Regions from separate parts of the Homo sapiens genome. Here all the other regions are linked to region 1. The links are contacts of gene promoters, found by promoter capture Hi-C in blood cells and fetal thymus (Javierre and others, 2016). All regions are on one chromosome and are shown on one strand. Each heading gives the region's core, a stretch centred on a gene start or on the middle of the fragment in contact. The rest is flanking DNA. Distances are from core to core; before and after follow the strand shown. Region 1 holds the start of PIK3C2A (phosphatidylinositol-4-phosphate 3-kinase catalytic subunit type 2 alpha). Region 2 holds the start of OTOG (otogelin). Region 3 holds the start of ABCC8 (ATP binding cassette subfamily C member 8).

The links. The method cuts DNA at HindIII sites, captures the fragments that hold promoters and counts their contacts. A CHiCAGO score of 5 or more calls a contact.
Region 2: a contact is called between the fragment with the promoter of OTOG here and the fragment with the promoter of PIK3C2A in region 1, in 16 of 17 cell types (M0 macrophages, total CD4 T cells, M1 macrophages and 13 more). The highest score is 34.5, in M0 macrophages.
Region 3: the fragment with the promoter of ABCC8 here is called in contact with the fragment with the promoter of PIK3C2A in region 1 in 16 of 17 cell types (M0 macrophages, fetal thymus, M1 macrophages and 13 more); the score reaches 26.5 in M0 macrophages.

What each region holds. Positions count from the first base shown.
Region 1 is chr11:17,206,603-17,209,370 of GRCh38, reverse strand. It overlaps PIK3C2A (phosphatidylinositol-4-phosphate 3-kinase catalytic subunit type 2 alpha), which reads left to right and starts at 1,385. Exons shown (of 33, transcript NM_002645.4): 1 at 1,385-1,523. RefSeq lists silencers at 1,237-1,316, 1,667-1,926 and enhancers at 1,457-1,566, 1,072-1,594, 1,595-2,118. The HindIII fragment of the contact is 7,601 bases long and covers 1-1,424 here.
Region 2 is chr11:17,545,859-17,548,626 of GRCh38, reverse strand. OTOG (otogelin) reads right to left here and starts at 1,368. Exons shown (of 56, transcript NM_001292063.2): 1 at 1,161-1,368; 2 at 640-700; 3 at 415-475. The coding sequence starts at 1,254. The HindIII fragment of the contact is 7,774 bases long and covers 1-2,414 here.
Region 3 is chr11:17,475,414-17,478,181 of GRCh38, reverse strand. It overlaps ABCC8 (ATP binding cassette subfamily C member 8), which reads left to right and starts at 1,337. Exons shown (of 39, transcript NM_000352.6): 1 at 1,337-1,553. The coding sequence starts at 1,406. It overlaps LOC124902641 (a long non-coding RNA gene), which reads right to left and starts at 1,531. Exons shown (of 2, transcript XR_007062609.1): 1 at 1,451-1,531. RefSeq lists an enhancer at 2,125-2,681. The HindIII fragment of the contact is 8,626 bases long and covers 155-2,768 here.

The DNA of each region.
Region 1 (2,768 bases), core at 136-2,635:
TGCGGAACTAAGTTGATTTCTAAGGGACATTCTTCTAGAGTGTGTAGCCTGCCTGGAAGTGTGTGTGCATAGAGGAGGGGCGGGGTTGGGGGAAAGATAGGAGTTGGAAGGGGGGGGGGTGTACAACAGCCAGTAGCTACAGCCGTAAGAAATAATCACATTTGTTTCTAGAATTCCCCATAGAATAGAAACTCCATCCAATTTTACCATCCCTGCGGAGGTGCAGGCATGTTTATTACAGCGCTATGAGGGATTCATCCACTCCACATTCCCCATTGCCCTAGCCCCCTTTCGCCAACCCCCGTCCCTGCCAAATCAGGCCAATTTCTTTCTTTCCAGTTATTTGCTGAAAGTTCAACTTCTCTTAGAGCCTTCTAATTATGCGTATATCATATAGGCTGATAATTTTTAGTTTAGGCTGAGAAATGCAGCCTAAATCAGTCTGCCACATCAGATTGTGAACGTCTGGATGGTGTGGACCCCCTTCTCCTACTGCTTAAAAGACAATCTTGTTGTAAAACGCTATGGAATCGTTCCTCTCCCCTTAACATCTTTGTGCCCCAGAAGCCCCATCTGTAAATGGGGATAATTTTCCTATATCTTCCCATGGTTACGTAATTTTTAGATCTAACACGTGAGGACCAAACGCTTTACAAGCATAATCTCATTAAATTCTCAATAAGAATATATTATTATGGAGGTTGCATGTGAAAATACTTTGTAATGTAGAAAGAGCCGTCTGGCTGTGAGTTATTATCAGGGGGTTATCTTCCTTACCTGGCTGTTGTGAGGATGAAACGAGACGCCGACCTGAAAGCGTTTTACGTGCTATCAAGCATTTTACAGAAACCACGTGATAGGCTACTAATTACCCACCGTATACCACCTGACCCACCGTGAGGCCTCGGTAAATACTGGTTGGAGTGGACGAGTTTAAGTCTTGCCTGTTCCTTTCAGTCTTCCAATCACAAAGTAATCTCGGCGCCGCCAGGGGCCAAGACACAAATCTGGGAACCTCAGCCTAGATGGAGGAGGGTGCGGGGTCCCGGGAGAGGGGATGAGAACAATAGGGTACTTCAGTGCCCGGGCCCTGTTTAGCGGGTCTTCGGACTCAGGGCCCGAGGGGCGGCCAGCTGGGGTGTCCGGAGAGCTCCCCTCCCCAGGTCTGGGGTGTGCACGGAGAGGCGTCCAGAGCCTGCTCAGCATTCCTCGGGAGAGAGCCAGACCCTGGTCCCCCGGGCCCGTGCGCCCCAGCGCCCCAGCTCCCTTGCTCACGCCACCCCGGCAGCGTCCAAGCCCCGCCCGCCAGCTCAGGTAGGCCGTCCGCGCCAGCCAATTCGCAACAAGTCCGGGCGGGGAAGGCGGTGCTTCCCTGTCCGGAAGTGACGTGCTGCGCTTGGCTGGCTGTGGAGTCGGCCGAAGCTTTCGGCGGCGGCTGAGCCAGCTGAGGGGAAAAATGGCTCGGACTGTGGCGGCTTCGGCGGCTCAGGTTGTGGTAGAGGCGGAGGCTCAGGCAGCTTGAGGTGAGGAGCGGTCGGTGCGGCTGGGGACGATATTCGGGGTCCTGCTCTGCAAGGGTGGAGAGGGGCCCCGGGGTTCCCGGGCTGGAAGGGTCTCTTGTCGCGGCCCCCAGTGCCTTGGGTGCCCGCGTCTGACCCTCCATCCCGTGCTCTTGGCGTTGCCCAGCCCGACTCCCCCCTCCCTCCGGGCCTTGCTTCCACCCAGGCCGTGAGCAAGTGCTGCGCTGGAGGTGCGAGGAGCCCGCGTCCCCACCAGGCCCCTCTTCTCGGGAGCGGAGGTGCGCCAGGGAGTTAGTTTTGTCCCACAGAAGGAGGGCAGGCCCCCCGGCCGCCGGCCCCCCTCCCCCGCCTTGTCCCGCGGGACCGGGCTGGAGCCGCAGTGGCCGGTCCTATTTTCTTGGCAGATTGTTAGTTCTGGCGAGTGTGTGTGTTGTACTTCTCAGTGACGGCCCCTTCTTTCACCTCCTGTCCCATCTCTGGCTCTGGGGGCCAAGGATACTTTTTCTTCTTCCCGGACCCCCCACTCCCACCGCGTTGCCTTTAGCCGCGAATCCACTTGCTTTGGGAACACTATTCTTTCAGTGTGTATTTAGCGCATCATCCTTCTGAGAGAGCGGTCAGATTAAAAAATACTAGCTTAACTCTTCCTGAGTGACGGAGGAATCATAAATAATTGAAGAAAAAGGCACATACTTATTTTCCTCACTGAATTTCTGGCTTTAAAAACGACATTCTCTAGCTGTGGAATTATTTTTTGGGGGAGGAGGGATTGAGGAGGGAAATGAGGAAGGAGAAACTAAGGAAAAAAGTCTGGACATAACGTGGAAGAGAGAGCCTGTTGTAGTTCTTTTCCTATACTGGCCCGATAGAAATTGAGGTTATAATTATATTCTTATTTTGAACAGTGGGGGTTTGAATTAAGTGAAACGAAGGAGGCCTGCCTCTTTGAACAAGATTAGTTATTAAAGAATGTCCTGAAATCTTTCCTGGTGGGTTTCAGGCAGAAAAGCTCTGTTGGGAAAATTTTTAAATCTATTGTAGCATCAAAGGCCACAGCATATAAGAGATGCAAGAAGAAGAAAGCTGTTTGTAGGGGAACGGTGAAGACATAGTAGAAAGAGGGAAGGCTGCACAGAAGTCCAGGAACTAATTCCAGGAGAGACTTTGTACCTTTGCCTCCTTGGCTTGTGGTTCAAGTCTCCACAAGAGACTCCTTTAGCAGCTCTGCCATAGTTGGGGTTGGTGCTC
Region 2 (2,768 bases), core at 119-2,618, 340 kb before region 1:
TGAGGCTCCGCTCAGGGTATGGAGAGGAGCCTCTGACAGGGTTGAGGGCCTTCGCAGGCCAGTCAGGGAAAAGAGAACTCCATTCTTCTAAACGTCCATCTTTCTACTTTTACCTGCCAGAAGGGAGAGCTCAGCTCTCTCCTGAAAGAGCCCTGGTGCCCACCTCTCCTAAAAAAAAAAAAAAAAAAAAAAAAAAAAAAAAAAAAAAGAGTGGACTATAGACCCCCAAGAGATTAAAAAGAATAGAAGGGTTTTATGAACTTGCACACCTCAGACACATACCAGGAATCTGCTTGTTCCTTTCTGAACAACTCCAGAGACCCCTCCTGTAACCTACAGAGCTCCCTGCCAGCCTCAGATCCAGATAGACATGAGCTCCTGCTCAATGAAGCCCCCTCCCAAGACCTCCCTTACCTGGCCTCCCACGACTGTAGCCTTGTCCCCCATGGCAAGGGTCGCCTCCTGGTGGCTGCTGCTGGAGGAAACACGAGTCTGGCATGGATGGGGGGCTAGGATGGGTTATGCCTCCCCGCAGTCCCCTGGCCTATCCCACCCTAAGTGCTAAAGCCCTGGGGTCGCTGATGCCAGAAATACGGATGGGAGCTGTGGGTGGGGCCGCCACAGCTCACACCTACTCACCTGGGTTGCCCGGCTGGCTCTGGCTGTGGCTCTGCACTGCCCCACAGAACGGGTGCTGCGGCTGGGGAGGGGGATTATTCTCCACTCAAATTGTGCTTGTCTTTACTGGGGCCTCCCACCACCTGGCCCCCACTGCTAGAAAGCCTCTCCCACGCCACTGAGCATTCCCCCATTCTCCCTCCCTGCAGCCTTCTCAAATCCTTTCTCTCCCTTCCTGATGACCCTTCTCCAGCCAGGATCTCCCTGTTTACTCTCAGTCTTTGGCCCCCAGCTCTCTCTAGTTCCCCACCTCGGGTCTCTTCCACCCAGCCTAACTTTGGACTCTTTCCCCCGCGGTCATAGGCCTGCCTCTGTTGGCTTCGGGGTCCCTCCTCCCCTGACTGCTCCTCCTGGGTGTCCCTCTGCTCTCCCTCAAACCTCTCTTTCCTCCCTCTCTCCAACCTGCGCGGGCCCATTCCTCATTCCTTTAACGTTTCTCATTCCTCGAGCCCCCGACCTCCCTGAGTCCACAACCCTCTCACCGAGGCGCTGCACCCGCAGGGACTCGGCTGCCTGCTCACCCCAGGGCAGCCAGACACAAAGCAGCCAGCAGAGCGCAGACGCCAGGACTCCCATAGGGACACGAGGGGACCGGAGGACTTGAGCGCAGGGCCAGCCTCCCGAGGTGCCTCCCCGGGCTAAGGCAGGGTCACACCTCCACTCCGCAGCCGAGGTCCCTCTTGTTCTCATGCCCCAGGGCTCCCTCAGCCCCTCCTCCCAGGCTCTCAGCTCCTCCCCGAACTAGAGTGACAGGAGTACCCAGCTTATTACCATAATTTAGGCGCCTGTCCATAGCCTAGCCTCTGCTTTTCTTGGCCTGTGGCCACACCTCCCCAGGGGAGGCTGGATTCAGATTACTCAGCCCTAAATTGTCTAGGGAAGCATAGAGGCAGCCTATGCAACCTCCAGCTCCCCTTACCTGGGTCCTGGAAGCCCAATACCAGAGACGCAAGATGCAGGTATGAGTCTGGCCCTATCCTCTCCTTTTACAGAGGGCCATGCTGAGGCCCTGGGACATGCCACTCAGGGATCAGTGGTCAATAACAGAGCCTGCAGAGTCCTAGCCTATGTTCTCACCATGCCCCACCTCAGCTTCCACCTGGGTCTCCACATCCGTATCCTATGACCAGTTTTGAGCACCTCTAGGGAATGGATCATGCCTTAGTCCTCTGAATGCCCAGCACCAGCTCCTGCCCGAGCTCAGGAAATGACGATTGAATAATAAAAGTGTTTCATACTCCTATGTTATTGCCACCATCAAGGCCAAACTTTGACAAAACAACTTTATATGTGTGAACGAGGTCCACTGTCTGCCCAGGAGGAATTTTAAAATGGCAAAAACATGGGACTGAGCACCTGGGGAATCTGTACATCATTCACTTCGTCATCACTTAGGGAACACCAACTAGATGCTAGGTCTTACAGAGGATGATGATGATGGTGGTGGTGGTGGTCGTGGTGGTATTGGCCCCAGTAGACTTCTAGGCAAGGGTATAGATTTGAGATGCATTCATTCATTCATTCATTCATTCATTCACTCAACAAATTTGTTTGGCATTGATTCCATGCCATGCACTGTTCTAGGCATATAGTGGTAAATAAAGCAAACACAGCTATCTTCACACAGGAGGAAGCTGGGGGCACAGATAGGAAGATGAAGAGGAAAGAGCTAAGGATGGAGCCTTAAGGAATGCTGGTTAAGGAACAGGCAAAGACTGATTGTCTCCAAGGAAGCTTGAAACAAAAATTCATGAGAGAGGAGAACCAGGTCTCAATGCTATTCTCAAAACAAAGCAGGGGGCATTTTAAGGTGGAGGGAGTCTGTGGGGGTAATGGCCAATGTAAAATAAGGATTGGTGTGGCAGGTGAACAGCATTCCCCTGGATAAGGACATTCATTCACCTCTGCCAGGATTCTAAATACAAAATAAACAGCCATATGACATTCTTTTCCAATGTAGAGAATCAATGAAGTAAGTCGGAGGGGAATGCATTTTGTGTGGCCTTTTCTGGACCATTCAAAAATCCCACAAGTCTTTCCATTTTATCGCTGACTTAATAGTTAATGCTAAGGTGAGAAAACAGATCATA
Region 3 (2,768 bases), core at 88-2,587, 270 kb before region 1:
AGGCATTCAGACCCTGAACTCCTGCTTTCCCAAGGCTTTTCACCCAACCCCATCTGCCCTCTGCCTCAGGGCCTGGGCAGAGCCTCGGCCTTGCTGACAGCGTGCTGGAGAGGCTCACCAGGCTCAGCAGCCTCAGGGCAGGCTCAGTGAAGCTTGTAGGCAAAGGGGCTGAAGGGGTCTTTCTTTTGTGTTCCCCTGACTGTTCCTAAGAACATGTGCATTTATGCTTCATACCCTAACTAGGAAAGTTCTCCTTAAATCTAACCCCCAAATCCCATCTTCTGTTCTTTCTACATACAATATAAACTTCTTTGGGCCACAGTCTTGTGAGAATCTCTCCAAAACGTATAGGAAGACATAATGTTGTCTTTACAATTGCACGGTGTCCTCCAACTGTTAAGCCTGTCCCAGGTGAGGTTAAGAATTTCAGTCCCTCTCCACTGCCTCACATCCATCTGGCCAGATGCGTTTCTTAAACTCCTCTTTATCAGCCTGGGGCTGTCACCCATTCTACCCATTGGTCTGCCAGTCGCTGTAAGGTTGTCATGTACCAGAGGCATGAGTACAAATGATGGGGGTGGGGACGGGGGACCTGAGGAGCTGGGTTCAAGCTATGCTTCCCTGCTTGCTGGCACTGAGACCTTGGGGGAAGTCATGTTACTGGCCTCCCTTCAGCTCCCTCGCAGCTTGGGTTTCCCCATCAGAAAATTGGAAGCGATTAGAACCTGTACTTAGCAAGAGTTCTGGGACATCCCTTGTGTGAAAGTGCCAGATACGCTGTAAAGCAGTACCTAGGAGTGCCCCACCTGGGACCACTTTTGAAAATGTCCAAGCCCCACCCCACCACCACCACCACCACAAGGTAACGTTCTGCCCCACTTTTCTCATCCATGTTGGGTGGAGACTTGCGCCATCCCTCGGCTCTCTACATCCATCCGCACCACGCCCAGGTGAACTCACACTCGGGACCCTGAACCCGCCCACTCCAGGCCTTGCGGGCCCTTCTCTCCTCTTCTGCACGCCCCACCCTCCTTTCCCACCCAGACTCCAGTGTGCCCACACCCCACTCCCCATCTTAGCCTGCCTTTCCCCTCTCCCCCAGCGCACGCGTGCATCAGGGCACTCACGAAGCCACCCCGGCAACATCTGGGAGCACGCGCCTCCACATCTGGAAGGTGGGCGCAAGCGTAGCAGGGCCGGTCGGGTTCCTCGCCGCCCCCCGGCCCCGCAGGTGGTGGAGCAGGGCGGGGTGAGGGAGGGGGAGGCCAGCGGGGCTGGGCGGGGCCCGGGGGGCGGGGGCCTGACGGCCGGGCCGGGCGGCGGAGCTGCAAGGGACAGAGGCGCGGCAGGCGCGCGGAGCCAGCGGAGCCAGCTGAGCCCGAGCCCAGCCCGCGCCCGCGCCGCCATGCCCCTGGCCTTCTGCGGCAGCGAGAACCACTCGGCCGCCTACCGGGTGGACCAGGGGGTCCTCAACAACGGCTGCTTTGTGGACGCGCTCAACGTGGTGCCGCACGTCTTCCTACTCTTCATCACCTTCCCCATCCTCTTCATTGGTGAGTGCGCGCAGCGAGCCGCGGAGGAGGGGACGGGAGAGCAGGGAGGGAGGAGGAGGCGCTGCGCGCCGCACCGCTCGGCGTCCCCTTCCGGCCCGCGACCGCCGTCCGCCTCGTTCCCGGGGTCCCCTGCCCTGTGTCCTGCCCGCCGGTCCCCGCACTCGCACACCAGCTCATCCCTTCACTCCCCCGGTGCCCCCGATCCCGCGCCAAACACAGCGGACGTTTGTGACCCATGGGATCACCAAGTTTTGCTTCTGCAGGGCCAAGAGCTGGGATGGGGAAAAGGGAAAGAGGAGGTCTCAGCACGCAGTGGGAAACTGGAGAGGGGTCGGGCCTCACCCTCCGTGGCGCAGCTTAGGGAGCCGGGTCACCCCTCCCGCAAGGCAGCCTCCCTGTCAGCCGCAGCTGGGCCTAGGGAAGAGGGAAGCCTGTGCTTTGGAGTCTGGGATGGAGGCCCAGCTAACCCCTATGCTTTCACCGGGCTGAGCCGCGCAGTGGTCCGTGATCTCTGACAGTCCCAGGCCCGCGCCCTGGGCGAGGAGAGGCGAGAGCTAGGGACTTGGATTCCCTTCCCCCGCCACCCCACCCGGGCATGTGTCTCCAGAGCGCAACTTCTCAGGCTCTGCGCAAAGTAGCTCCGACTCGCCGACGCAGCGACCCCGGCGCCCTTGCTTGCAAAGTTGGGCGCCACGGCCGGGACAATCGTGCGTGCCTCTCCACTGAGGTCCCCCCCATCTCTCTCCAAGACCTTGACTCTTCCAGACCAGTCAAGTCTATCAACTCATAGGGTGTCCCCTGCATCCCCAAAACGTGTTCATTCACTTTAAGAAAACAAGCAAATCTTAAAATTCATATACAGCTTTGGGGAAGAAAGGAAAGATTGTCACAAAATTAGATTTACAAGAGGTTGCTGCAGAAGCAGAGTTGCTAGTTATTAACAAAGACAGTTAGATAGAAATAGAAATAAAACATACAAAATATGTGCTCATATGTGCATCAAAAATCAAAAAAGAACAGCATTTACACTTCTGTTCTCAGCCAAACGGTTTATTAACCTGATGACTTGTCACACAAGAAGTTAGTATGTATAATGGGGTACCTTGGCAGGGCACAGTGGCTTACATCTGTAATCTCAGCATTTTGGTGGGCTGTGACAGGAAGACTGCTTGAGTCCAGGAGTTCGAGACCAGCCTGGGCAACATAGTGAGACCC